Regions from separate parts of the Homo sapiens genome. Here all the other regions are linked to region 2. Evidence: promoter capture Hi-C in 16 types of primary human blood cells and fetal thymus (Javierre and others, 2016). All regions are on one chromosome and are shown on one strand. Each heading gives the region's core, a stretch centred on a gene start or on the middle of the fragment in contact. The rest is flanking DNA. Distances are from core to core; before and after follow the strand shown.

What was found. The method cuts DNA at HindIII sites, captures the fragments that hold promoters and counts their contacts. A CHiCAGO score of 5 or more calls a contact.
Region 1: a contact is called between a fragment that was not itself captured here and the fragment with the promoter of CREG1 in region 2, in 9 of 17 cell types (total CD8 T cells, naive B cells, total CD4 T cells and 6 more). The highest score is 6.4, in total CD8 T cells.
Region 3: a contact is called between a fragment that was not itself captured here and the fragment with the promoter of CREG1 in region 2, in 2 of 17 cell types (neutrophils and total B cells). The highest score is 10.1, in neutrophils.
Region 4: a contact is called between a fragment that was not itself captured here and the fragment with the promoter of CREG1 in region 2, in 1 of 17 cell types (activated CD4 T cells). The highest score is 5.8, in activated CD4 T cells.
Region 5: a fragment that was not itself captured here is called in contact with the fragment with the promoter of CREG1 in region 2 in 7 of 17 cell types (total CD8 T cells, naive B cells, naive CD8 T cells and 4 more); the score reaches 8.1 in total CD8 T cells.
Region 6: a contact is called between a fragment that was not itself captured here and the fragment with the promoter of CREG1 in region 2, in 1 of 17 cell types (naive B cells). The highest score is 5.2, in naive B cells.

The regions. Positions count from the first base shown.
Region 1 is chr1:167,405,742-167,409,976 of GRCh38, forward strand. All of the region lies in intron 13 of POU2F1 (POU class 2 homeobox 1), which reads left to right. Among named protein-coding and RNA genes, the nearest start is that of CD247, 110 kb to the right of the region's middle. The HindIII fragment of the contact is 3,104 bases long and covers 304-3,407 here.
Region 2 is chr1:167,551,421-167,555,958 of GRCh38, forward strand. CREG1 (cellular repressor of E1A stimulated genes 1) reads right to left here and starts at 2,342. Exons shown (of 4, transcript NM_003851.3): 1 at 1,968-2,342. The coding sequence starts at 2,321. RefSeq lists a silencer at 2,031-2,480. The HindIII fragment of the contact is 3,087 bases long and covers 1,235-4,321 here.
Region 3 is chr1:167,723,549-167,728,274 of GRCh38, forward strand. The region is part of intron 1 of MPZL1 (myelin protein zero like 1); the gene reads left to right. Among named protein-coding and RNA genes, the nearest start is that of MPZL1, 3.9 kb to the left of the region's middle. RefSeq lists an enhancer at 4,478-4,726. The HindIII fragment of the contact is 2,660 bases long and covers 1,275-3,934 here.
Region 4 is chr1:167,424,144-167,428,903 of GRCh38, forward strand. POU2F1 (POU class 2 homeobox 1) reads left to right here. Exons shown (of 16, transcript NM_002697.4): 16 at 1-3,197. Among named protein-coding and RNA genes, the nearest start is that of CD247, 92 kb to the right of the region's middle. RefSeq lists enhancers at 106-1,076, 1,077-2,047. The HindIII fragment of the contact is 670 bases long and covers 1,031-1,700 here.
Region 5 is chr1:167,387,691-167,392,181 of GRCh38, forward strand. It overlaps POU2F1 (POU class 2 homeobox 1), which reads left to right. Exons shown (of 16, transcript NM_002697.4): 9 at 1,898-2,071. Among named protein-coding and RNA genes, the nearest start is that of CD247, 130 kb to the right of the region's middle. The HindIII fragment of the contact is 2,184 bases long and covers 407-2,590 here.
Region 6 is chr1:167,323,901-167,328,230 of GRCh38, forward strand. The region is part of intron 1 of POU2F1 (POU class 2 homeobox 1); the gene reads left to right. Among named protein-coding and RNA genes, the nearest start is that of POU2F1, 110 kb to the left of the region's middle. RefSeq lists an enhancer at 3,817-4,330. The HindIII fragment of the contact is 5,188 bases long and covers 1-4,330 here.

The DNA.
Region 1 (4,235 bases), core at 606-3,105, 150 kb before region 2:
ACTTGTTCTAACTGCCATCTGCAGAACACTTGGTCCAGCAACAGCAGAAAACACATCCTTTTTATGTACACATGGAACATCCATCTCCCAGGATACTTTTAGCCATAAAACAAGTTTCAGTAAATTAAAAAGGATTAAAATCATACAAAGTGTGTTGTCTGATGACAACTGAGATAAACTAGAAATTAACAATAGAAAGAAATTTGGGAAGTCCCCATGTATTTGAAAATTAAAACATGCATCAAAGAAGAAATAACATTTCTCCTCTATTTTCCTATCAGGCCGGTATTACCCAGATACCTAAGCTTAGATAAATAGCACAAGAAAAAAAAATTACAAACTCATATTCCTCGAGAAAATATAAACCAAAACTCTCAAAAGAATCTTAGCAAGTCAAATCCAGCAACATACTGAAAAAATCGAACGATTATATACATCATGGCCAAGGAGGATTTATCTCCCAGGAATGTATGGTTAGTACAATAACTGAACATCAATTAATGTAACACATTATAATAGTAGAAGAAAGGACAAAAACCACATAATCATCTCAGTGGATACAGAAAAGATATTTGTAAAAATCCAAAACCCATTCATGATGAAAGCTGAAATACAAAGGAACTGCCTCACCTGATAAAGAGCACTTACTAAAACTCTCCAGCAAATAGAATACTTAATGGCAAAAGACTGAATACTTTCCCCACTAAGATTGAGAATTAGGTAAGAGTGTTTGTTTGCTCTTGTGGACTTCTGATTAACATCGTCCTGGAGGTTATAGCCTCCAGTAAGGGGGAGAAAAAAAACGGAAGACAATTTGGAAAGGAAGAAGTTAAACTGCTTGTATTTGCATTATTCTATATGTATAAAAATACTAAGGAATTCACCAAAAAAAGGTATCTAGGACTAATCAATAAATTCAGTATTGTTGCAGAATACAAGATTGATATATAAAAAATAAATTACATTTGTATGTACTATCAATGGACAGTTCAAAAATGAAATTTAGGAAATAACTTGTATGTAACAGTATCAAAAGAATAAAATACTTAGGAATAAACTTAAAAGAAGTGTAAGACTTGAACAATGAAAACTACAATTTGCTGAAAGAAGTTAAAAGAAGTCTAAATAAAGAGACATTTCATATTCCATGTTCATGTTTTGGAAGACTAAGCATTCTTAAGATGACAGTTTTTCTCCAGCTTGAGATATATGTGCATCTCTCTTTCTCTCTGATTTCAAGGTTTATCCACATTATAGCATAAATATATATTTTTTTATTTTATTTATTTTATATATTTTATTATTATTATTATTTGTTTTCGAGACAGGGTATTGCCCTATCACAGTGGCGCAATCACATTTCACTGCAGCCTCAACTTCCCAGGCTCAAGCAGTCCTCCCACTTCAGCCTCCCCGGTAGCTGGGACTATAGCCACATGCCACCCGCCCAGCTAATATTTGTATTTTTTGTAGAGACGAGGTTTTGCCATATTGCCCAGGCTGGTCTCGAACTCCTGGGCTCAAGCAATTCACCCACCTTGGCCTCCCAAAGTGCTGGGATTACAGGCATGAGCCACCATGCTCAGTCTTCCAGCTTGATTTATAGATTCAACAAAATCATAGTAAAAATTCCAACAGGTTTTTTCTTTGTTTTGTTTTAAAGAAATCGATAAACTCTTGGAAGGGACCAAGAATAGCCAAAACAATTTTGAGAAAGAGTGAAATCAGAGGATTTTCATGTCCTAATTTCAAAGTTTACTGTAAAGCAACAATAATCAAAGCAGTGTATTACTGGTATACATATAGATATATAGATTAAATGGAACAAAATTAAGAGTCCAGAAGCAAAACTTTAAATTTATGCTTTATTGATTTTTGACAGAGGTGCCAAGGCAATTCAATAGGGAAAGGACAGTCTTCAACAAATGGTTCTAGGACAACTGGATATCCATATGCAGAAAGAGGAATAGAGGAATTTAGATCCTTACCTTACACCGTGCATAAAAATTAACTGAAATGGATCAAAGGCCTAAATATAAGAGCTGAAACTATAAAGTTGCTAGTAAATAAAGTAGGACAAAATCTTTGTGACCTTGGGTTAAGCACAGAGTTCATATACACAGCACCAAGAGAACGATCCATAAAAGAAAAAAAAATTAGTAAATTCAGCTTCATCAAAAGTAAAATCTTTTGTGCTTCAAAAGCCACAGACTGAGAGAAAACATTTGCAGATCACATATCCAATAAAGAAATTGTGTCTAGAATGTATAAACAACTCTTACAACTCAATAGTAAGAATATAAACAACTCAGATTTTTAAATGGACAAATGTTAGTAGACATTTTACCAAGGAAGATATAGGAGTGACTAGTAAGCACATGGAGAGATATGTGACATTAGCATTACTCATTAGGGAAGTGCAGATTAAAACTGTAATGAGATACTACTTTGTACTCACTAGAATGGCTATAATCAAAAAGACCCAAGATGATAAATGTTGGGAAGGATGTGGAGAAACTGGAACTTTCATGCATTGCTTGTAGGAATGTAGAATGATACAGCTTCGGAAAACATCTTGGCAGTTCTTTTAAACATAAATTTACCGTCCTACCCAGCAATTTCCCCAAGAGAAATGAAGACATTTCTACACAAAAACTTCAATGTGAATGTTTATATAGCAGCCTTATTTATAATATCCAAGAACTGGAAACAAACCAGTGCTCATCAACTGGTGAATGAATAAACAAAATGTGTTATATCTACACAGTGGAATATTATTCAGCCATAAAAATTAATGAGGTGTTGATTCGTGCTACAATGTGGATGAACCTTGAAAACAGAATGTTAAGTAAAAGAAGCCAGATGCAAGAGACTACATATTGTATGATTCCATTTGTGTGAAATGTCCACAAAAATCTAGAGACAAAAAGCAGATAACTAGGTAGGAGTGTGACATGATTACAAACAGGCACAAGGGATCTTTTTTGGGAGTGGAAATGTCATAATCTGGATTGTGATGATGGTTGTATAACTGTAAGTTGATTAAAAGTCATCAAATTTTAAAGCTGGATGAATTTTCATGTGCTTACTAGTCACTCCTATATCTTCCTTGTTAAAATGTCTACTAACATTTGTCCATTTAAAAATCTAAGTTGTTTATATTCTTACTATTGAGTTGTAAGAATTGTTTATACATTCTGACACAATTCCAGTTCCTTTATTGGATATGTGATCTGCAAATGTTTTCTCTCAGTCTGTGGCTTTTGAAGCGCAAAAGATTTTACTTTTGATGAAGTTGAGTTCACTGATTTTTCTTTTCTTTTATGGATCATTCTCTTGGTGCTGTGTCTGTGAACTCTTTGCTTAACCCAGGGTCACAAAGATTTTGTCCTACTTTATTTACTAGAAGCTTTATAGTTTCAGCTCTTATATTTAGGCCTTTGATCTGTTTTAGTTAATTTTTATGCACAGTGTAAGGTAAAGATCTAAATTCCTCTTTCTGCATATGGATATCCAGTTTATAAGTTGTATCTCAATAAAAGCTGTTTGAGAAAAGACAAGACAGGGCGGGAAGCACAGGGAAGTGCCAGGTACTATATACACACCTTGACTATAGCTTCCTACTGCCCCTGTGAGGTGGTTGGTGGTATCTTATTTTGCTGTTGAGGACATTGAGGCTCAGCAACAATAAGTTCACTAGTCAAAGTTACCCAAGTAATTAAATTGCCAAGTTGCCAAGAATTTACAGTCATGAAATACATATATTGATGAAAACATGACTCACTGACTGGGATAATTAATTTGAAGATAATTTTAAGTTGTTATACCATAATGCTTATTTATATAACATTTATATTGGAGACGCCTAGAACAATTTTGAATGCTTCTGGAGTCATCATCTTCTGGCCTAGGTTAAATTCACTGATAAAATTTGACTGGGATTTTCTTTGTAAACTTAAGGGATTTAAGAAAACAGTTGGTGAATGATTTGAAGGTGGCTGGAGAGTAAAGAAATAACTATTTTAAGCCTTTTGAGCTCAAGATATTAGGACTTATAAAAATAGGCAATTCAATTTCAGAACTTTGAAAGGGAAGTAGTACCCATAGGTAAAATCAGGTTAGATAAGGTGAGAAATTGGTCAAAAAAAGATTGAAAGTACATTGAAATTGCTTAGCATGGAAGAGAAATAAAAGATGTTCACCTTACTATGTGACAGGGGGCATGTCTTAAGAGA
Region 2 (4,538 bases), core at 1,092-3,591:
CCTAAAGCCCTGGGTAGGTTCCTTGCCACTGCCCTGTCTATTTCTAGAAACATGAAAGACCTGGGCTAATGTCCTACCTGACAGCCATTAGCTGACTGGTCACAGGGTAAGTCCCTGCACCTCTGAGTCTGTGTTTCCTCACTTCCTAAATGGGGACAATAATACCAGCAACTCCCTAGTCACCTCACAAATTTAAATATGATTATGTATTGGTCAATCTCCCTCCTCCCCCATTAGAATCATCAGGGAGTGGTTTGTGGGGAGGCGGGAAGGGGTGTTGTCTTAAAATAAAATGTGCTTTCAATAAAATACCTTGGCATCCCATTTTTAAAGCCTTCTTAGGTGACTATGATTTGCAGTCAAAGTTGAGCACCACTGATGGAGTGGAGTGAGTTTGTTTTGAGCAAACGCCTAAAGGTGTGGAATGGGCTGGGAATAAGAAAATGGTGAACTGGGGTGTATCTGCCTTAGCTAAAAGAGGGCACTGCTTCTGTTTTTGCTCAAAGAGTGCAGGCCCACAGTGTCACTGGATCTTCCCATTTTTCAAGAAAAGTTAGAGATTTACATTTTAAAGTAAAATCTAAATTTTAAAATGTTGGTAACAAATTCAAATTTATTAAAAACAAAACAGAACTTTGTGTAGGCCAAACCGGTCTGTGGGACATATTCAGCTGATGGGCCACCAGCCTGTGATAGGTGGTTTGAAGAAAGATGAACCTGAGATGAAACTAGGGGTTTGCCCGCTGGCTTTAAACAAGTTACTTAACCTAGGTAGGCCTCAAGTTCTTCATCTGCAGAATGGGGTATATAATACCTACTTCAAAGAATTAATAGAAGAGACAACGAATGGAAGGCAAATGGAAAAGTGATTAATCAAGCATCAGTTTCTTGCATCCTGTCTTTATCAACAATGTTGTACTTTCAGAGTTGAACTCAAATGTGAGAGCTTTGTCAAAAAGACCCTCCATCAAATCAGGCTCCATTCCTGGACTCTGTGTGTCTCCGGCCTCCCAAGCTGGGTGTCTGTGACCCCATCCCTGAGACAGCAGAGATCCATCAGAGTTGTAAGTGTGGCCCTGCACCAGAAGGTGGGCAAAGGGCGAGGAAGAGATACACCTTCAATCAGCTCTGCATCTTACTGAGGAGCCACTATGCCTGTGGAGGCCTAAAGACTGCAGTAATCATTGTAATCGTCCATGATATTGTACGTTAGCGTCTTGCTGCAGGAGGGAAAAGCTTAATTCAGGAAGGGTAAGAGAGTGAGAAACCCTGAAGTCACATATTAAAGTGCTTAAGTACCTAACAATCTCTATGCCCTGTAAAACCTTTAAGAATAGGAGCCCAGGCAGGGCGCGGTGGTTCACGCCTGTAATCCCAGCACTTTGGGAGGCTGAGATGGGTGGATCACGTGAGGTCAGGAGTTTGAGACCAGCCTGGCCAACATGGTGAAACCCCGCCTCTACTAAAAATACAAAAATTAGCCGGGTGTGGTGGCACGCACCTGTAATCCCAGCTACTCGGTAGGCTGAGGCACGAGAATCGCTTGAACCTGGGAGGCAGAGGTTGCAGTAAGCTGAGATAGCGCCACTGCACTCCAGCCTGGGCCACAAAGTGAGATTCTGTCTCAAAGGGAAAAAAAAAAAAAAAGAGAATAGGAGCACAGTTAATAGAGACACTGGGCCCCAAGACGACTGAGAACCACTCACGGATGAGAAGTCCTCGGGCTGCTGGCAGAGAATTTACCCCAGGTGCGTGGCCCAGTGGCGGAGGCTTGTGGGAAATTCCTGGTACCCAGCTGCCCAACATCTGGGACGCTGCAACGCCCACCTACCTGCCTGCGCGGCAGAGAAGCAACAGCCGTTCGAGCCACGCTCCACTTCCCGGGAAGAATTCTGGGGAGAGTGAAGGCTCGCTCTGTGGCCGCCCCGCCCACAGCCCGCCTGGGGAAGCCGCGGGCCCCAGCTCACCTGCAGGTTGCTCACGGAGAGCTGCAGCGGGCTCAGGTAGAAATAGGGCACGCCGCTGCCCGCGCCCGGGGGCCCGTCGCTGAGCGAGAGGACGTCGGCGAAGGGCCGGCCGCGCACCGCCTCCAGCGTGGAGATGGTGGCCAGAGCGCCCCAGTCGGAGACGTGCGTCACGAAGCGGGCCACGCGCGCCGCGTCCTCGCGGGGTGGTAGCGGCGGCAGCCGGGAGGCCTCGTCCCAGTCCCCGTGGTCCCGGCCGCCGCGACCCCGCGCGGGCGACACGAGCAGCGCCAACAGCGTCGACGCCAGCAGGGCGGCGAGCAGTGCGCGCGCGGACCCGCGGGATAGCCCGGCCATGGCGGTGTCTCCAGGAAGAGTCCCGGGCCCCAAGACCTGCAGGGACCCAGCCGGAGCTCGGCGCGCCCAGGCCCCGCCCCCTCCGCGAGGCGCCAATCAGAGCTAAGCACAATGCAGGGGGCGGGGTCCCTCTGCAGCTCCGCAACCTGCAGGAGAAGGGATTGGTTCATCTGCATTCCAATCGCTCTGCCTGCCCTCTTTAAGGATTGTGAATTTGTCCTAAACGGGATATTTGTTTTGTTTTGTTTGACAGGCGGAAAAAGAAAGGCTTGAAGAAATCAAGCAACTTGCCCAAATCGTACTGCTAGGAAAAGACCAGCCTCTTTACACAGGCACACACCCCCTCCTTTTAATACCTTTGGAGATGAATATCTGGCATCTGAGAGGAAATGCTGCATTTTCTACCCATGCGCCTCTTTTCTGTTGAATTTACCATCAGCTCCAAAGAACAGCGAGGGTCCCAGCGTTGTAGAAGCCCAGACTCAGGCTCGTGTACCCCATGTGTAGCTGATGCCAAACACTGACATATAGGTGCTTGGAGATAAAAGTTTATTCGATTTGGCCAAAGCGAGAAGGCGGGAGGGCAAGATCTCTCAAATCCGCCCTAACAAAAAGAAGAAGCAGAGAGTGTTTATGCGGCCAGCGAGTCAGGGAGGGGGAGTTTCAGGGAATCGAGGGAAAAAGTCTGTGTTTCTTCAGTCTCAGATAATTCCTTGAACAATCAGACTTCTGGGCGACAGAAGCTGGCCTCAAAGTACTTCAAAGGACTTATTCCTCCTGCAAACTTTTTCGTAACCCTGAAGTTATTATCTCCTCCTGCTTGATAAAGAAACAGTACATCAGCAGTTTATGATTATGTTGTAGGAACAAGGGATATTGGGCAAAAAGAGAGTTGTCAACATGTGCAAGCAAGGGCCTGATCAGAATTTTCATTATTTCAGTCACTAACAAATGCTGGGGTGCTGAAATCTCAAGGGGCCCACTTACACTAGTAGTAAAGTTAGGCAGAAGCCCGAAAGTTCAAGACCTTTAAAAAACTTTTTATTTACTTATTTTAAAATTTTTAATTTTTGTGGGTACATAGTAGGTGTATACATTTATGGGGTACATGAGATATTTTGCTACAGGCATACAATGCATAATAGTCATATCAGGGTAAATGGGGTATCCATTGCCTCAAGCATTTATCCTTTGTGTTACAAACAATCCAATTATACTTTTAGTTATTTTAAATGTACACTTAAATTATTATTGGCTATAGTCACCCTGTTGTGCTATGAAATACTAGGTCTTATTCTAACTATTTTTTGTACCCATTAACCATCCCCACTCCTCCCCTGCAAGTCCCCCCACTACCCTTCCTGGCCTCTGGTAACCATCCCTCTACTCTCTGTCTCCATGAGTTCAATTGTTTCCATTTAGGCTCCCACAAATAAGTGAGGATGTGTGAAGTTTGTCTTTCTGTGCCTGGCTTATTTCACTTCACGTAATAACCTCCAGTTCCAACTATGTTGTTGCAAAGACAGACAGGATCCCATTCATTTTTTATGGCTGAATAGTACTCCATTGTGTATATATACCACATTTTCTTTATCCATTCATCTGATGATGGACACTTAGGTTGCTTCCAAATCTTAGCTGTTGTGAATAGTGCTGCAGTAAACACAGGAGTGCAGACATCTCTCAATATACTGATTTTCTTTCTTTTAGGGATATACCTAGCTGTGGGATTGCTGGATCATATGGTACCTCTATTTTTAATTTTTTGAGGAACTCCAAATTTTTTTCCAAAGCGGTTATTCTAATTTACATTCCCACCAACAGTGTACAAGGGTTTCCTTTTCCCCACATCCTCACCAACATTTGTTATTGCCCGTCAAGACCTTTTAAACTACTGGCCCAGGAGTCCCTCATATAGACGCACAAAGGGATTGTTAGTCTACTATCAATATCCCATGTACAAATTTGAACTTACCAGTTCAGGACCTGTTAAGACATTAAGCTTGGGGTCGGCGGTTTCATGAATTTATTGCCCCCGCTGCCCTTCCCTGCTCCATGTAAGGGACATTCCTTTTGCTTCTTCTAAGATGGCCTGTCTCATTCTCTCACGGGTGCTCCTGATTCTGCTATTCTGGAAACTGGTCAATAAGCTCATAGCACCTGGCCTCCATTCTTTATGACTTTAAGCTTTGGTCACGTCTTTTTGGAGCAAGTCTT
Region 3 (4,726 bases), core at 1,355-3,854, 170 kb after region 2:
GCCTAAAATTAAGGTTTATCAGAAATATGCTTCAGACAGAATTGTTATGCATGAGAGGTCAGACATTGCTATGGAGGACAAAGCAGTTAGGGTGATCTTAATTAAAATCAGGGTATTAAACGTAGAAGGAGTGCAAAACTACATAGTAGTGAAAAGATCACTAGAGTAATAGCCCCATACAACTTGGACGTAACTCTTCAGTAATGAAGATGAATGTTGATATGTAAAAATCAGCAGCTGATGTTATTGGTTCAACTTAGAAAATTATTGAATCTAAAATTCTTGCCAAATCACCTCTTTTCTGGTCATGGATACTGCACATAAGAGTTTATCTTTTACAGGATAGCTTCTAAAGTTTTATCAAGACAGTTACTCAGCAAACATTCACTGAGCACCTTTTAAGTGCTTAACACTTAAAAGGTGGGAGGTTAGGTCTCACTGTGTTGCCCAGGCTGCTCTGGAACTGAAACTCCTGGGCTCCAGTGATTCCTCTGCCTTTTCCTCGCAAGCAGCTGGGGCTACAGGTGTGTGCCACTGTGTAGGGTCAGAAGCACATTGGTAAAGATGTACTGTGGGAGCTTGAAGGAGGGTCATTATCTCAGACTGTAGTTCAGGCTACTGGAGGAAGGGAGTTTAAACTGGGTAGGCATGGGGGAGGGGCAGAAGTACATACAGAGTTATGAATGAACCTGTTGGTAGTTCAGTATAGTGGGAGGTTGGAGTGTATATAAGGGGAATGGTGGGAGTTGAGGCAGGAGAGCCTGCCAAGGGCACCAGCTTACAAAGGGCCTTGTCTGCCACACTTAATCCAATGAGGATTTCTCTGTCTATTGAGATGTGAAGGATGGGTTAGAGTGGGGTGAGGCTGAAGCCAGAGAAGGCAGAGGACTATTGTAATAATCCCGGGGAGGATGATGAAGATCTGAATTCAAGCATTGGGCTATGAAGAGAGGACACATGTTGATGCGCCACTTAGAAAGTACGTTTGATAGAGCTTGGAAACATTGATGCAGGCTTGAAAGAGGAGGTGGATAAAATGATCATAGGTTTTGGGCTTGGGAAGCTGGGCATATTTTTGGCCTTTTCACAGATGGGGAAATAGGAGTCTTGGGGGAAGAAGATGATGGAGATACTTTTGAATATGTTGAGTTTGAGATGCGGGTAAGACATCCAAATGGAGATGGGCAGAAAACAATTGGATAGACAGTTCTGGAGGTGAGGAGAAAGTTCTGGTTGGAAATGGAGATTTAGAGAGTTATGTGGCTAATAGTTAAAGCTTGGATTGTTTGGATGAGGGCATCCAGGGAAAATGCACTGAAGAACATAGCAGAGAGCCAAAGACGGAGTTTTGGGGTATATGAAACCTGACAAAGAGTCTCTGTGAGTAAGAGAAAAACCAGGTGAGTTTGGTATTTCAGCATTGTCAGATGAAGAGAGATAAAATGTGATAAGAATTCACTGAATTTGGTAATTGAAATGAGCACATAGTATATGAGGACTAAATCTCAGTAATTTGTACCATCCATGTCAGTAAATGGAACCTCCATACATCTAATTGTGCAGGCCAGAAACCTAGGGTCCATCCCTGATTCTTCCCTGTCCTTCACATCCAATCAGTTCTCCCATCTTTAAAATGCATCTGGAATTGATGTTTTTTCTACCTCCACTCCTAGCCTTTTAGTCAAAGTCACCACCATTTCTTGCCTATATTACTGTGATAGCCTCCCAGCTGCTCTTCCTCTTTTTCCCCCTCTGGAGTCTTGCTCTGTCTCGCCCAGGCTGGAATGCAGTGGCACAATCTCGGCTTACTGCAACCTCCATCTCCCAGATTCAAGTGATTCTTCTTGTGCCTCAGCATCCCAAGTAGCTGGGACTACAGGCATGCACCACCATGCCTGGCTAATTTTTGATTTTTCTATTTATTTTTAAATTTATTTTATTTATTTATTTTTTGGGGGATGGAGTCTCGCACTGTTGCCCAGGCTGGAGTGCAGTAGCGTGATCTCGGCTCACCACAACCTCCACCTCCCTGGTTCAAGCGATTCTCCTGCCTTAGCCTCCCGAGTAGCTGGGACTACAGGCGCATGCCACCATGCCCAGCTAATTTTTGTATTTTTTAGTAGAAACTGGGTTTCACTATGTTGGCCAGGCTGGTCTCGAACTCCTGACCTGGTGATCCACCCGCCTTGGCCTCCCAAAGTGCTGGGATTACAGGCGTGAGCCACCACATCTGGCTGATTTTTTTATTTTTAGTAGAGACAGGGTTTCACCATGTTTGCCAGGTCTGGAACTCCTGACCTCAAGTGACCGGCCTGCCTCAGCCTCCCAAAGTGCTGGGATTACAGGCATGAGCCACCACGCCCAGTACTCATCTTGGTTCGTTTTAATCCATTCTTCACAAAACTGCAAGAATGATTTTGTTAAAATGCAAATCAGATCATGTTGCCTTCTTTTTTAAAATCCTTAATGGCTTCCCATTGCACTTGGAATGAAATCTAAACTTCCCATGGCCTGAAAAGCTCTTTGTGATCTGGTTTCTGCTTACCTCTATGACCTCAACTTGTACCACCCACCACCCCTTTCTCACTATATTCAAGCCACACTGCCATCTTTCTGCTCTGTGACACTCATTCCCACCTCCTAGCCTTTGAACTAGCTGTTCTGATGTTGCCCAGGGCTGGCTCCTTTCCATCACAGAGGCTCTAAGTTTCACATCTTTAGAGAGGCCTCTCTGACCACCTTATTCTAGGGTACTTACCTGTTACTATTTGCTGGTTTGCCGTTTACTTCCTTATTGTAATTTCTATATGGTTTTTCTTCTCTTTTTTTTCCTCCATCAGAATCTGGGACAGACAAATCATCTGTCTTGTTTATAGAAGTATTCCTAGTGCTTAACACAGTGGATATGGTAGATGCTAAAAATATTTGTTAAATGGCAGTGAGGCATAGGCATGTCTTGACAACAGTTTGTTAGGAGTTTGCAATATGTAGTTATGATTTAGCATGGTATAGTAGGTCCTCAATATGTGTTTATGCAAGAAGAATATTTTTCCAAAGTGTGATTTCATGCACTGCTTATTTCTCATTATCAGTTCCCTTGGCCTTTTACTTATTTACTAGTCAGGATAGTAAAATAGAAACTTAGTCTTATAAAATATGTATATTTTTTACTCCAACTCCAGGATATCCACTAGGCTTAGATGCTGCCAAAAGAAAAAGATAAATGTTAAGTGAAAGACAGCTATGTGCAAAAGAACATAAAATGCAAGTTTGTGTTTTCATTAAGTCTAATTTATTTACTTATTCAACGTAAATGAACACCTACTGGGCACAAGGCACTGTTTATGTATGGGATGCAGCAGGGAGCCTAGATGCTAGTGAGAAGTGACAGACAGGAAACATCTACTCAAATAAATAATACCAAAGGACAGATTAAATTCCCAACAATCACAACTTTTAAGAAAATATGATTGATCTAATATGAAAATTTGCAGCAAATTTTTGAAAAATGGAACATCTTATTTGTATTATAAAATATTTTTAAAACTTATAAGGGATATGTTATAGGGTTTCTTTAAAGATTGGTCTTTCCCACTGAGTTTTAAAAACATGATTTAATTGGGAAAAACATAGCTTTTCAGAAATATTGCTGTTTCCCCTCTATCCAGTAGATGCTGGTCTACCTACTAAATATTTCTCACCATCCACTTTGCATCCACACTGGAGCTAATATAGTACAGCCACAGTCATGTCTCTACTGGATGATTAGAGCCTTCTAACTGGAGCCTGACTGTTTTTGAGTTATATCTTTTATCTGAGAATTTGAATTATTTGTGTAAGACATACATCTCATGTGTACCTCAACCTTGGAAAGATTTTTAATCTTGCTCTCTAAGACCACAGATGTCATTTTAAAAGGGAGAGTAAAATGGTAAGCTTTGGCATATAATTTATTATAGATTAGTCTTTAGCCCCATCGAAGACGGTATAATTATTAGAAGAACTAGAAGCATCTCCTGAGGTCTCAAGTGTCATATGGCTCTGAGACTTGACCCCTAAGGCTGGTGATATTAAGCCTTCATGTATCTTGAATGATATTCCTTTTTTCCTTTTCCACTCTTACTTTGCTAAGTCGTTTGACATTAGCAGTGCCCTAGAGTCCAGACAAAAGTCTTTGGAATTTTTGCTGCCGTAAGAAAGCAGAGGTCAGTTGGCTCCGTTCACCATAGTGCATAAATTGAGAAATTGTGGTTGTCTCCTGGGATCTTTATATCTTTGCCTTTAAACCCCTTTGTTTATTCATTATCTTTTTTCTTTCTTTTCCTTTTTTTTTTTTTTGAGACAGAGTCTCGTTTTGTCGCCCAGGCTGGAATGCAGTGGTGCAACCTCGGCTCACAGCAACCTCTGTCTCCCAGGTTCAGTGATTCTCCTGCCTCAGCCTCCCAAGTAACTGGGATTACAGGCATAAGCCACCACGCCCAACTAATTTTTTTTTTTTTTTTTTTTCTGAGGCAGAGTTTCACTCCTGTTGCCCAGGCTGGAGTGCAGTCGCGCCATCTCGGCTCATTGCAGCCTCTTCCTCCCACGTTCAAGCGATTCTTCTGCCTCAGCCTGCCGAGTAGCTGGGATTACAGGTGCCTGCCACCACGCCTGGCTAATTTTTTTGTATTTTTAGTAGTGATGGAATTTTGCCATGTCGGGCAGGCTGGTCTCCAACTCCTGACCT
Region 4 (4,760 bases), core at 116-2,615, 130 kb before region 2:
AAGGCACACACTTTGTAAGAGTAGAGTGGACTAGTGCCAGCCTGAATAGGTTTAAAACTGCAAACAGTTGGAGAACATGGAACAGGTTGGTGCAGGAAGCCTAAGATTTTGCAATCATATTATAACATTGGCTTTTGACAACATAAATGTTGTATCTTCCCTAAGGTCAGGTCGGGGAAAGAAAGACTTCCAGCTTCTTACCTCTGCGTGCATGGGCACGTGTGCATTGCTCAGTCCGCAGGAGGTCTCACTCCGCAGGAAACGCTCTCCTCCCGCATAAGTCTGTACTTCCATCCCCTCATCTGTGGTAGTAGTGAAGGCTAGGTGAGTAAGCGTGGGCTGTTCTACCCACCAGAAGTCCAGGAGCTGTTGTATACCTCATTTCTAACTCGTGACCGAGTGACTTGCTTTAACTTTCTCGAAATCCTACAGAGTTGCCAAGTCTGCCCTCCCTCCTCAGTCATGTTAAACTCTGGCCTATAGCATCATGGGACCTGTAGCCTAGGGTGGGACCCCCTAAAGCCTCTGAATGTCGCTGCTTAAAAGCTACTGCAAACTGAGGGCAAATTGCAATCTTCTATTCCTTTTTGTTGCAAGGGGTCTTCACAGGTCTCTTAACATCTGCTTTCCCTGCCACCCTGCCTTTAGGGGCTGGCCAGCTATCCACACCCCTAACCCACCCTGTGTTTCTGACAGCTGGCCACACGTCAACTTCTGTACTTGCCTTTTCCTTGGTGGGGTAGAGGCCAACCCCTTCTCCTCTGAGGCCTCAGGGTTCTGTTTCTTTTCAGGACTTTGGGTAGAAGGGAAGACACCAAAGGCTCCTTTAAGCTGACTGCTGCATACACATTTCACTTTTTTTCCTTTGACATGACCAAAAATATCCAAATATTTAAGTTTATTATTATTATTATTATTATTTGACAATCTTATATCCAATGGGCTCTCTAGAAGCTGCATCCCCAGCCCTTTCACCTTTTCTTTGAATGTAGTTCCCAACCTTCAATTCCCACCCCTAATGCTGACAAAAAGCTTAGCCAGGTCATGATACTGCTGCTATAAGCCAGGGGAGGGTGGTTTCTTTGTTTTGTTTTGTTTTGTTTTGTTTTTCAAATTTCCAGCCAAAACCAAAGATTTCTTAATGATTGTATAAACTCAAAACAAACAAAAGAACCAAAGAAAAGGGAAGTCTTCAGCATCAGTCCAGTCTGTGGTGTCCTGGCACTTAGAAGAGTGAGGCCAGGGAAGGTGGGGCGGGGGGACCCTCTGACTGGATCAGAAAGGGCAGGCAAGCTGCTTACCACCTTCCAGGGTCCAGCACAGGTGCATGCCCCTAGCTTTGGCCCTCACAAACTTGTGAGCATGCCCTGAAACAAATTGGCATTTCAGATTTTCCAAAACAAAAGTCAAAAAACCCCATCACCACCATCATCCACCCTACACCAACCAGGGTCACTATGGGGACTTAGCACAGGGCCTAGGGAGGGTGGGAGCTGCTGCTGGACTGGCCCGAGGACTCCACAGAGTGGGGGACGTTGAAGACACTGGCGCACGATTGGCTGCTCTGCTGGGTGCTTTAACCTCTGGGGCTGGGCGAATGCACGCCACGGTGCCCTTCTGAGCCTTTTTTTCTTTTCCTGTACTGGAACTGCTTGGAAGTGGCTGTCCTGTTTGTGAGAAAACATGCAGAAAGATTATCAAGCTTTTCATTTCTCTTTATTGTAGTTTTCTTTCCTTTTTGCAGCACCACTGTGCAACTATGCATTGTACTTCACAACCTTTTGTGCTAGGTAGATGCCTGTGACTTTTTAACTTGGGGGGTGGGGGGATTGCAAATGAAGGAACTTTTTACATGGATCTTTTTAATCTCAGTTGGTTGGGGGAGGGGGGTACTTGGTTCTTGGGTCACACAAGCTCTATCCCAAAGCAAAATCCAAATGTTAATAATATTAGCCTGATGCAGATACCAAAGATAATTTCTTTCCTGCAGAACCTTAGACTCGTGTATTAAGTACGATTACCCAGCACTTGCATTAGTCTAACCTCAGTAATTCCAAAGCTTAGATGTATATTTTGGTATATTTCTGGGATATTAAAAAAAAAATGTCGTTTAACTTCTTGTTTGTTTCAGTGTAATGCTCTTAAAGTCATAGCATGAAAATAATTGAACTGTCCTATTCTTAGTAGTTTGAAATAATAGTATTTTTGTATGTTTTGGGTGTGTCTATGTATGTATTAACATAACAGTTTTCACTGCCTAGGTGTTCATAATAAAAAAGAAAATGAAAAAAGTTCTGAGTGTACATAATATTCAATAATAATCTCCCACCAGGTGTCAATTTAGATTGCATATTCCTCATTACTGTTCCCAACTGGGATTTTGTTTTCTTTTAAAGAGACAGTGATCGTGTTTTTCTAAAGATGTTTTCTTTCTCTCTTTCAATATCTTAACTCACTTTTTTTTTCTTCCTTTTTTGTCTTAATTATTAATTCAGGGGTGTTTGTCCACTGTTGTCAAAGGAGGGGCACAAGGGGAATTGGCCCCCGGCCTCCTAGAACTTTTTGTTTTATGTACTTTAAAATGTGAGTTTGAGTTCTTCTTTGTGGAAACTTAAGATGTGGTGTAAATGATTCTTTCCAAAATTGTCCAGCAGCTTGAATGAGGCAGTGACAATTCTGAGGTGGTTTATTGGGAGTCCTTCTACATTTCTCTTAGATAACTCTGCACTCTGGGTGGCTATTGTGTAGCCTTACTGCCCCAGAGTGCCTGTTAGCCAAATATTTCCCCTCTGATAGGAATATTTTCTAAGAATCAGCTGATAACTTGCGTGCTGGACCTTGTTATCTGTGCCCCTGGGAGACACACGTTTTCTTGGTTTTGAAAACCTGAAACACAGGCAACTTTACATTTTGGGGAATTAGCTGATGCCTCCTGAAGCCTGAGGAGGTGGCGGGGAATATGAGCGGTGCTGTCTCTCTCAAAAGTGCCCTTTAGATGATTCCCCCTCCTAGGGCTGCCTGCAGGGGCTGTAGGCTTGGGAAAGATTGTGTAGGTGACAGTGAATCAGAATGAAGTGGTAGATTTTGTGTAGATGCATTTGTCTGCTGTAATTTTTTATATATATATTAAACTTACTGTAACTGTACAGTTCATTTCTGTTGTAAAACATCATTAAACCATCTTCCAAGTGTTTTCACATTGTTGGAGTTTCTTTGAAATTGCTGTGTTGGTATTCTGGATGCTTCACATACAGATTCTCAGACTTCGCATAATTCAGCTTCCAAATTGTTTTTTCCAAGTGCTCTCAGGAACCCCAGAATCACCATAAGCACCCTGGTTCCTGCCCCACTCCACCCTTCCTCCTGCACTCCAGGAGGAGCTATGGCCACTGCATTTCTCCCTCCCAGACCCTCAGTGTGGTTTCGTGGGACCCTGAGTAGCAGTAGTCTCCCTCAGGCCCAAGTACTTTGTGTGATCAAACACGCAGGCCCATGATTGATCCTGCAAGGGAGCTCTTCAAAGCTCCATCTCACTGTGTATTTGACTGCAGAACTGGGACCGAACTCAACTTTTTCCAAATGTATTGTTTAAACTGCACTGCCCCTCTAGCATTTCTTGCCAAGTCCTGAACATTCACTGGGTGGGGGCCGGGTGGGGGGTCCTCCGAAGGAAGGTAACCCTGAACTTGGCATCTGGTCCTCCTCCTGTTCGAGGCTGCACAACTTAGCTTCTTCAGACTTATAAATACCACTTAGCATTTAGTGTCTTACTACAATTCATTCATTTCATGAAAAGTAAAGTTTGAATTTTAAAATGAATTCCCCACAGAGAGAAGGCTTCAGCTTACTGAAGAACCTGGGGAAGTTGTCTATCACGTGCTGGCCATCTGGCAGGCATTCTTGAATTAGATGATGTGGAGAGCCGTTGTCGCAAGATGTGCTCGCTCTCCTGGAAAGGGACCAAAATGGGAAGGCAAATGGTGGGTCCCTTTCTCCCTGCTCCTTTATCATAGAATTTATATTTTTCCATTCCATTCCTTAGATATATGGCTTATGTCTCAGTTTGTAGTTATTTTCTTAAAATAATGTCAAGTTTTTAACAGAAATCCTGTTTTTGAGATAGTGTCGTGCTCACAGACTTAGCAAGCAAAACTCGTTTGTCATATCCTAAGGAATGAGGATAAACAACTGATGAGATTCTGTTACCCTGTAGTCCTTTGTGAAAAAGTTGTTAAATTCTAACCCATTTCCAGGTTTGTATACAAAGCTGAATTACCTATGGCAGGATGTGAATAATATATGCCCTTACTCTTTTGTTTTTGGAGGGACTTACATCTCTCCAAAGACCCAGGTTGAAGTTAACAGGAAATCCGGTGTTAGGACTCAGTCATGGGTTCACAAAAGTAGTTGTTGATCAACAACTGAAATGTCCAGCACCAAGCAACCAAAACACATCACAAGTTATTCATGGACAGTTTGAGGCCTGTGGCTAAACAGTTGGCCAAATGACAAGGCTTTAAATCACCCCGGAAGTTGTCCTCTTAGCCTAAGTAGGTCATCTGCCATTTTTTCTCTGCCAAGCCAGGCTTTGCAGTTTTGAGTATTTCTCTGCTTATAGGAACATTTTAAACTAGAAACCTTGGATCTTATTCCAAGAATGACCTCAAATTATACTCTAAGAAGAAAAGCGATCAGAAATATTCATATCTTATCTCTGAGTTTAGTGACATTTGAATAAACGTTTGAAAAATATTGAAAGC
Region 5 (4,491 bases), core at 249-2,748, 160 kb before region 2:
CTACTCTTCACAGGAGGAGTCAACTGAGCAACTAAGATGCAGTCAGGCAGTGCCTCCCACTAGTGAGGTGTGTTCCACTCAGGGCTTGTGAATAGAACAGAATAACCTTAAGTTTGTGTGATAAGAAAGTAGAGTATTTTATTTTTAAAAAGAGACTATACCCTCATGTCCCAAAATAAACTATACATGGATTTAAATAATCAAATATTCAACAAAGAAGAAGCTAGCAGATTAAAAGGAATTTTATCAATGTTAGAAATAAGTGAAGCTTTCTCAGATTTGAAGTAACAGGATATATTAGAAAGGAAAATTAAAAGCTCACCCAAATGACAATTTAAAGGTTTATGTACCCTGAAAAATAAAAGGAAGAAAGCAAATTGGAAAAGCATTTGCATTAATATGACAAAGCTTCCTTTATAAAATTTGAGGATCTCTCTAAGGATAAGGATGAGAATAAATATCATTAATATATAAATTGGTTAAGGACGTAAATCCAATTCACATTCAAAGAAATACAGATAATAATTGACACATGGGAAAATTTTGACATTGAGTAGTAAGAGAAATACAAATTAAAGCAGCAGGGAACTACCATTTACTTCTTGAATTAGCAAAACATTTTTTAAAACTGCTAACGTAAGTCATGTGGAAGAGTGTTGCATAGTGGGAACCAACGTTATGATATGTATCAAAAACCATGAAATTGTTTATCTAGTTACCAGAAAAGCCCTTGAGAATTTATCTCAAAAGAACTAATTACACACATAGGTGGAAAAAATAACTAATATGCATAAAGTTTTTCATTGTGTTATCTATGTTAGTGAAAACATAAAAACTGTCTAGCAATTAAGAACTGGTTAAGTAAATTATGAGAATATTGCCTTAGTTTTTAAAAAGGATAACTATGAAAACTGAAATACTCCTGATTTCAGTAGTCCAAGCTATCAAAGAGTAAGTCAGTGGTAGTGCTTAAAACAAATAAAAATGCTATATATCCAGACAACTATTTAAACCATTAAATATATTCACTCTTCTTTAAAAGTCCTCGGTTAGCTGACAAATTCCAGAAAATTAATTTGGATTTTGGTTAATTTGGGGTTTTCATCTTCTATAGATTCTTGCTCGATTAACTGGTGTTAGCATAGGCTTAGAGAGTATGTGTGCCTGTGCTTGCATGCCTGTCTCCATCACCCTCTCTCTTCCAAAAAGTTATTTTTATTTTTAATTTTTATTAATTTTTATTTTTTAGAGACAGTGTCTTGCTCTGTTAAAACAACGTTAAATAAGAAAAGCAGAGAGTAAAATTTTGTATACCATAATTACAGTGAAGGTTTAAAGATATAGGTCCTTGGGGAAAAAACTGGAACAGATATACAAAAGCGAAACCTGTTATAAGCTATTTAAACTGCAGGTGGTTTACTTTTCCCCCTTAATGATTTTGAATTATGATCTTGAATACTGTTTTTATAATACTGTGTCACAGGTTGGAGATGTAATAGTGGTAAACAAGACAGATATGCTGTCTACTGTTTTGACAGTTGAAGTGCTAGACTTATGAAATAGATTTTTTGAAATAAAGAGTAATTTATTAAAAGACATAAGATATATGTATTCAGACCATTTGAAAACCCAGTTATAATAGGTTTCATTTTTGTGTATTCATTTCATTTTTGTGTATTCATGTTTTTTCTATAGAATTACATAATTACTTGTAATTACAGTATACATAATTTCACTGTCTGCTTTGCTCACTGAACATTATGTTGTACATTCTGTAGTGTTACATGGTCTTCATCGTTATCCATAAATGTGGCTCTTTCCTTCAGTTGTTTACTTGGAGTAAACCTAAATATCTCTTCACGTGTTTTTCCTCATTGTTTTATTCTTTCTCCAACAGCCAGCAACCCCAACACGCACAATAGCAGCAACCCCAATTCAGACACTTCCACAGAGCCAGTCAACACCAAAGCGAATTGATACTCCCAGCTTGGAGGAGCCCAGTGACCTTGAGGAGCTTGAGCAGTTTGCCAAGACCTTCAAACAAAGACGAATCAAACTTGGATTCACTCAGGTAGGGTGAATTGGCCTTACATTGATTCCCCTCCTTGGCTGGGTCCAAATACAGTTGGCTCTCTGTATTCATGGATTCCACATCTGTGGATTCAACTAGTCCAAAATATTTGGGACGGGGGACGAAAAAGGATGGTCATGTCTGTACTGAACATGTATAGACTTTTTTCTTGCCATTATTTCCTAAACAATACAACAATTTACATAGCATTTACATTATATTAAGTATTATAAGTAACGTAGAGATGATTTAGAGTATATGGGAGGATACACGTATGTTATATACAAATATACATTTTATAATTTGGAGGACTTGAGCATCAGTGGATTTTGGTATCCAAGGGAGGTCCCGAAACCAATCCCCTGTGCATACTGAGGGACAACTGTATTTGCTTTACATGTCCAAAGAGGCTTCTAAGATACAATATGTTCCTCAGCCATGTTGTTTTTTGGTTTTAAACTGCACCTTTTTGTTAGCCTTTTCCTGCATTTTTAATGTATGGTTTAATGTTAGTCTAGAAGCTTTATGATTTCTTTCAGAACACAGGCCTCTGAAATCATAATTATATCACTAAATTGTGAAGACTTTAAAAGATTGTATGGAGGATTTTGTTATTTGAAGAATATCTGGTGGTAGACCTCAGTACTTCATATGTAAGATTGAGAGAGTAAAGATTACGGGGTGTATTATATTAGCTAAAAGGGGAAAAGTTTAGAAGGCTTATTTAAAAACAGTTTTTTGTAGTGGGGGCAGTAGCTCTAATCTGTAATCCCAGCACTTTGGGAGACTGAGGTGGGAGGATTGCTTGAGCCCAGGAGATGGAGACCAGCCTGATCTCTGGTGGGACCCTGTCTCTCCAAAAAGTAAATAAATAAAAAATTTAACTGGGTGTGGTGACGCATGCCTGTAGTCCAAGCTATCAGGAGGCTGAGGTGGGAGGATTGCTTGAGCCCGGGAGGTCGAGGCTGCAGTGAGCCATGATTGCTCCATTGCACTCCAGCCTGGGTGACAGAGCAAGACACTGTCTCTAAAAAGTAAAAATTAATAAAAATTAAAAATAAAAATAACTTTTTGGAAGAGAGAGGGTGATGGAGACAGGCATGCAAGCACAGGCACGCATACTCTCTAAGCCTATGCTAAAACCAGTTAATCGAGCAAGAATCTATAGAAGATGAAAACCCCAAATTAACCAAAATCCAAATTAATTTCCTGGAATTTGTCAGCTAACCGAGGACTTTTAAAGAAGGGTGAATATATTTAATGGTTTAAACAGTTGTCTGGATATGTAGCATTTTTGTTTGTTTTAAGCACTACCACTGACTTACTCTTTGATTAACCTGTCATAAATAATATATTTTTTTAGAGACAGGGTCTCGCTATGTTGGCCAGGTTGGTCTTGAACTCTTGGCCTCAATCAACCCTCCCGCCTTGGCCTCCCAAAGTGCTAGGATTACAGGTGTGAGCCACTGCGCCCAGCCTGCAAATAATACTTTTAAAGCAGGCAAGGAATTAAACTGAATGAAATTTATGTAAAATGGTATAAGATCATTAGGTAAAAAAAAACTGAAGTATGGATTAGACTGGGTGCCTTTATGGAATCAGGAGAAATCTGTTATTTTCTTTCCAGGGAATATAATTTAAAGTTTTTAAGCCACTAGTTAAATATTACTCAAATTATTTTGTGTTGAAAGTACGGTAATGCTCCACCTGGCCTGGTAGGTCAAAATCCAAGGGTAGCATCCCCAAATGTACTATGGGTGTTTTTAAGAACACATTTATATATATCTTTATATATATCTTTTTTTTTTTTTTTTTTTTTTTTTTTTGAGACAGGGCCTTGGTCTGTCACCCAGGCTGGAGTACAGTGGCATGATCACGGCTCACTGCAGCCTTGACCTCCAGGGGTCAAGGGATTCTCCCACTTCTGTCTCCTGAGTAGCTGGGACTCAGGCACACCACCACACCCGGCTAATTTTTGTAGAGACAAGGTCTTGTCATGTTGCCCAAGCTGGTCTCGAACTCCTGGGCTCAACCAAATCCACCCACGTCAGCTTCCCAAAGTGCTAAGATTACAGGTGTGAGCCACCAGGCCCAGCCCAGGCTTATATTTCTTTGGGAATTCATTTTTGCTCAAAGAAATCAATTGTGTTGGGGAATATGTAATGATTTTTTAAATAGGCATGATTTTAGAGGAAATACAGTTACATTTGTGAGGAGTTTGACTTGTGAAGAAGCAAATTATCCAGAAACATTTTAATACTTTCAAAGCATCTTAAATGATCTGACCTGTTTTAAAAAGAAAGCTAGGCCGGGCACAGTGGCTCACACCTGTAATCCCAGCACTTTGGGAGGCCGAGGCAGGTGGATCACCTGAGGTCAGGAGTTCAAGACCAGCCTGGCCAACATGGCGAAACCCCGTC
Region 6 (4,330 bases), core at 753-3,252, 230 kb before region 2:
CAGGCTAATCTCGAACTCCAGAGCTCAGGTGATCCACCTACCTAGGACTCCCAAAGTGTTGGGATTACAGGCATTAGTCACCGCACCCAGCCTAATTACACAATTTAAATAACTATATAAACCAAGGAAAAGAATAGAAAAAGAAAGATGATGTTTCTGTGAAAATTAAGTTAAATGCTTTGGAAAGATTTGATAAAGGGTAATTACTAAAAAATACTGAATTAGATGTGTGCAAGAGAGCTATAAAATAGTAGGGATAAATTATTCTAAAAAAATAGAAAAGCATTATGGACTCAGATTGCCTCATGTGTCATATAATTCTTGCCCCACTTTTAAAGCAGTGTTTTTTAATCTATGAGACATGAAGTCAATTTAATAGGTTGAAGTCTAGAACACATCGCAATACATTTATACCTGGAAAGAAGCATTGTTCTATGGAACTTTTCTTGAGTTTTTAGTATTTAGTCTATACATATATGTACAATGTAAAATGTGACTTTCAGTGAAAAACGTAAAAATCTTTTGAGTTTTTTATCCAAACTCAAAAGGCTTTGGCCCAAAAAAATTGGTGAATGAATGTGTATTTATATGCTTTGGGTTAAAATACAATCATTATGTACTTGTGTTTATGATACTTAGGTTGACCATTTTGTTCAGCCAACCAACTACTGATCTCAGTCTCATGGGATAAGAATTTTTACATATTTTATTTTACTTGTCTTCCTCTCATGCCCTCCATATTGTGCCTGAGTCCCCAACCCCCACCATACCTCGGCTCTCTGTTTAGTAGCTATGTGACCCTAAGGGTCATTAACTAGGCCTCAGTTTACTTTTTATGAAGTAAGATTATCCTTCAGATTGCTTGTTATTTGGCAGTGCTTAATAGCCACGTTGATAAAGTACATGTCTTTCATGGTATCTGCCCATCTAGATTTTTAGTAAATGATAGACATTCCGTTAAGTTATTCTAAAAGATTTTTGGTGGGGGGAGGGGACACTGAGAGCCCCATAATGCAACCTTAGAGGGTATCATTTACATAGTCTGTGATGTAGTTGACAAGAATGGTGGCAGTGCCAATACCTATCACTTGATTCTGAGTCTCAAATTTTCAAGTCCTGGAATGTTGTTTCATATTTGGTGGGCATTAGTAAAATTATTTTAGTTTGTATGTGTGTGATGGGTTTGTTGGACTTTTTTTGTAAATAATTATTGATAATGCTTGAGGTACTAAGTATTTTTATTACAGAGAATTGAAATATCATTAAGTGTTTTCTGTAAGTAAGTTAATAGGACACTAAATTATTGGTAGATTGGAAAAGAGATGAAGGTTGGAAAGGATATTGGTGTACTGTTGAGATTGGCTGGGGTGAAACCAGTGGTGCTAAAAGATGCAGACACCCCCCATGATATAGAAAGGAGGTAACAGGCAATAATTGTTGAGTCAGACATTTCTGCTTGTTCAACTAGTTATATGGTCAGTACAGAATAGAGGGTACAAATGGCTATTCATATAGAACATGACCAGGCTGGATGTTAATGATTTAGTAAGGTAGAATATAGGCCGATCTCAGTTCACTCTCACATAAAAGGTGTGTTTTAAAACACTAGTTTGTGATTTAGTTGTCATTGCCCTCAATTTCATTTCTAATGATACCTACACTGGCCCATAAGATCATGAATATAAAAATATTTTAATACTAGTAGTGTCGGCTGGGCATGGTGGCTCATGCCTGTAATCCCAGCACTTTGGGAGGCCAAGGTGGGCGAATCACGAGGTCAGGAGTTCGAGACCAGCCTGGCCAACATGGTGAAACCCGTCTCTACTAAAAATACAAAAATTAGCCTGACTTGGTGGCAGGCGCCTGTAATCCCAGCTACTTGGGAGGCTGAGGCAGGAGAATCGCTTGAAACTAGAAGGCAGAGGTTGTAGCAAGCTGAGATTGTGCCACTGCACTCCAGCATGGGCAAAAGAGCAAACTCCATCTCAAAAAAAAAAAAAAAACTAGTAGTGTTAACCGTGAATTCTGGGTCCTGGAAGAGCGTTTGTCCCCTCTTTTAGAAAATAAAAAAAGGCTACATTTTAGGCGTAATTGTGAAATACATGAGTTTGAATTTGCCCTTTCAGCTCCTTTTTATACTTCCATATGTTACTACTATTTCCTATTATTACTACCTTCTATGAACCCTTTGCCCACATTACCCCACCCCCAATCCAGGTCCTCTAAACATCAGTTATTTTATCATTTATTGGCCTCTTCTCTAGTAGAAACAACCATTGCCTTACAATCAACTCCTCAACTAGGTGTTAAATGAAAGCAGTGGGATTGGATTAATTCATGCTCAAGTGTGAATGACTGACAATCCCACAAACCTCTCAAAAATGATTTTCCTTTGTACAACGGGTGTTCTTTCTAGGTTAAGTTTTAGTCTAATTGATTCTTTGCTATTATTTCAGACAGATGACCAAGTGAAATGGACATTTGAACTTTGTGGGAAAAGCTGTCATTTTCTTCTTTTGGACATAAATGTGCCATGGTTGGGGAGTACAGGCAAGAGACGGTGACAGTCCCTCTCCCAATCCATCTGTAGAGGCTTGGACAAACTCCTGGTATTTAAACTTCCCCTCTAAAATTAGTAGGGTACCTAGGTCAAGGGTGGTAGAAAGGGACTTTTCTTGCCTTTCCTTCCCACTGTAGCAATGTGAGCTTTTTTTTCTGGGTGAGCTTTGCAGTAGAGGGGAAGCGGGGGGTCCCACTCTAGATAGTAGCCTGTGTGGGCTGGTAAACTATAGCCTCCCTGCTACAGGTCTTGTGGGACTCCCTTAGCCTGAGGAGGAGGCTCTTTCACTAGGAAGGTGCTGCTCCTGTTGGGTACAGACACACTCCTTTGTTAGCAATGATTGTCTGGCTGCAAGTCATCCTTAGCTAATATATGAAAGACCACACTCACAGTAGAAAGGTAGTTTAGAGATGTTATTACATAAAGTAGAAAAGGGCAGATGGTAAGTTGCAGAAATATCCCATAATAAATGCAAATAATAAATTTTAAATTTCGTAAAGGCGGAAGAGGAGGGAAATAAACATTTATTGATATCTACTGTAATCTAGTCACATTCATCATTGCTTTTCATCTTTTCTCACCAAGGAGAATTTGTATAATCCAACATATTCTACCTTAAAAACTCATTTGAAATTTGTGTTCTCTTCTATAATGTATTCTTATTTTAATACAAAGTGGTGTGAAATATTAAATAAGATTGATGCTTTCAAAAGATGGACATGTTTATCCAGTGACTTGATGTCTGCCCTGGCACAACTGCATCACATTCCTCCAGTCCACGCTCTTGTCTGAGAAGCATGAAAGCATTTATCTCACAATAACCTCATGAAAGGGATATCATCATTTTATAGGTGATAAAATTAAGGCTCGAAGAAGGAAGGAACTTAAACAGGTATTACAGGTATTAAATGGCTGTGTTAAGTTTCTCCCCCAAAGTCTCTCCTCATAAGCATTTTGTGATTCAGTAAAACAGAAAAACTGGTAATGCAGAGTGCTGATCCAAAAGTTTAAGGTTTTTGGTCCTCTACTGACTTGCAAGGGAATCTTTTTAAAGGCCCCTTGTTAAAATCTGTCTTTCATTTCCTGAAGACTAGTTCTAAATAAAAACAGTTATTAATGGGCTGACACCTTTCAGAACTCTCCTCAAATCTAGTGCACTCTTCTGTGTATCTGTACACACCTGACTTTTAAACACAATGTCTTTGCTGCCGTTTACTGGTTTCTTCACTACACGGAAAACAAACCATTCAGTCTGCTGCTTTACCACCTCTCAGCAATTCCCTACGTGTTTAACTCATCCATAATGCATAGGAATAGCCAAGAGCACAGATTCTGATATCAGAAAATTCTAGTTTTAAATCCTGATTCCGAATTACTAGTGTGACATTGGATAAAGTGTTTTAGTTCTCTGTGCCTCAGTTTCCTTACTTTAATAATATATAAGGAAAGAAAGGGGTAATAATGCTTATTACTCCATGGAGATTTTATAAATCTCCTGAATTGTCTGTGATGATTAGGCTGTTGTCATTGTAATGCCTAAAAAATTTTGGGTTGATGACTTACCTTGTAAATATACTTTAAATTGAATAAACATATAGTTTAGTAAGGATTATATATATGTATGTATGTTCATTAAGTGAAATATACTTGAGAATACCAAGTAATTCCACAATTTACATGGCCCACCCTTTGACAATAGAGATTCTAAGTAACAAACTGTCTTCTTTCTACTTGAGATTTATTTTCATGGGGGAAGGATACTGCATAATA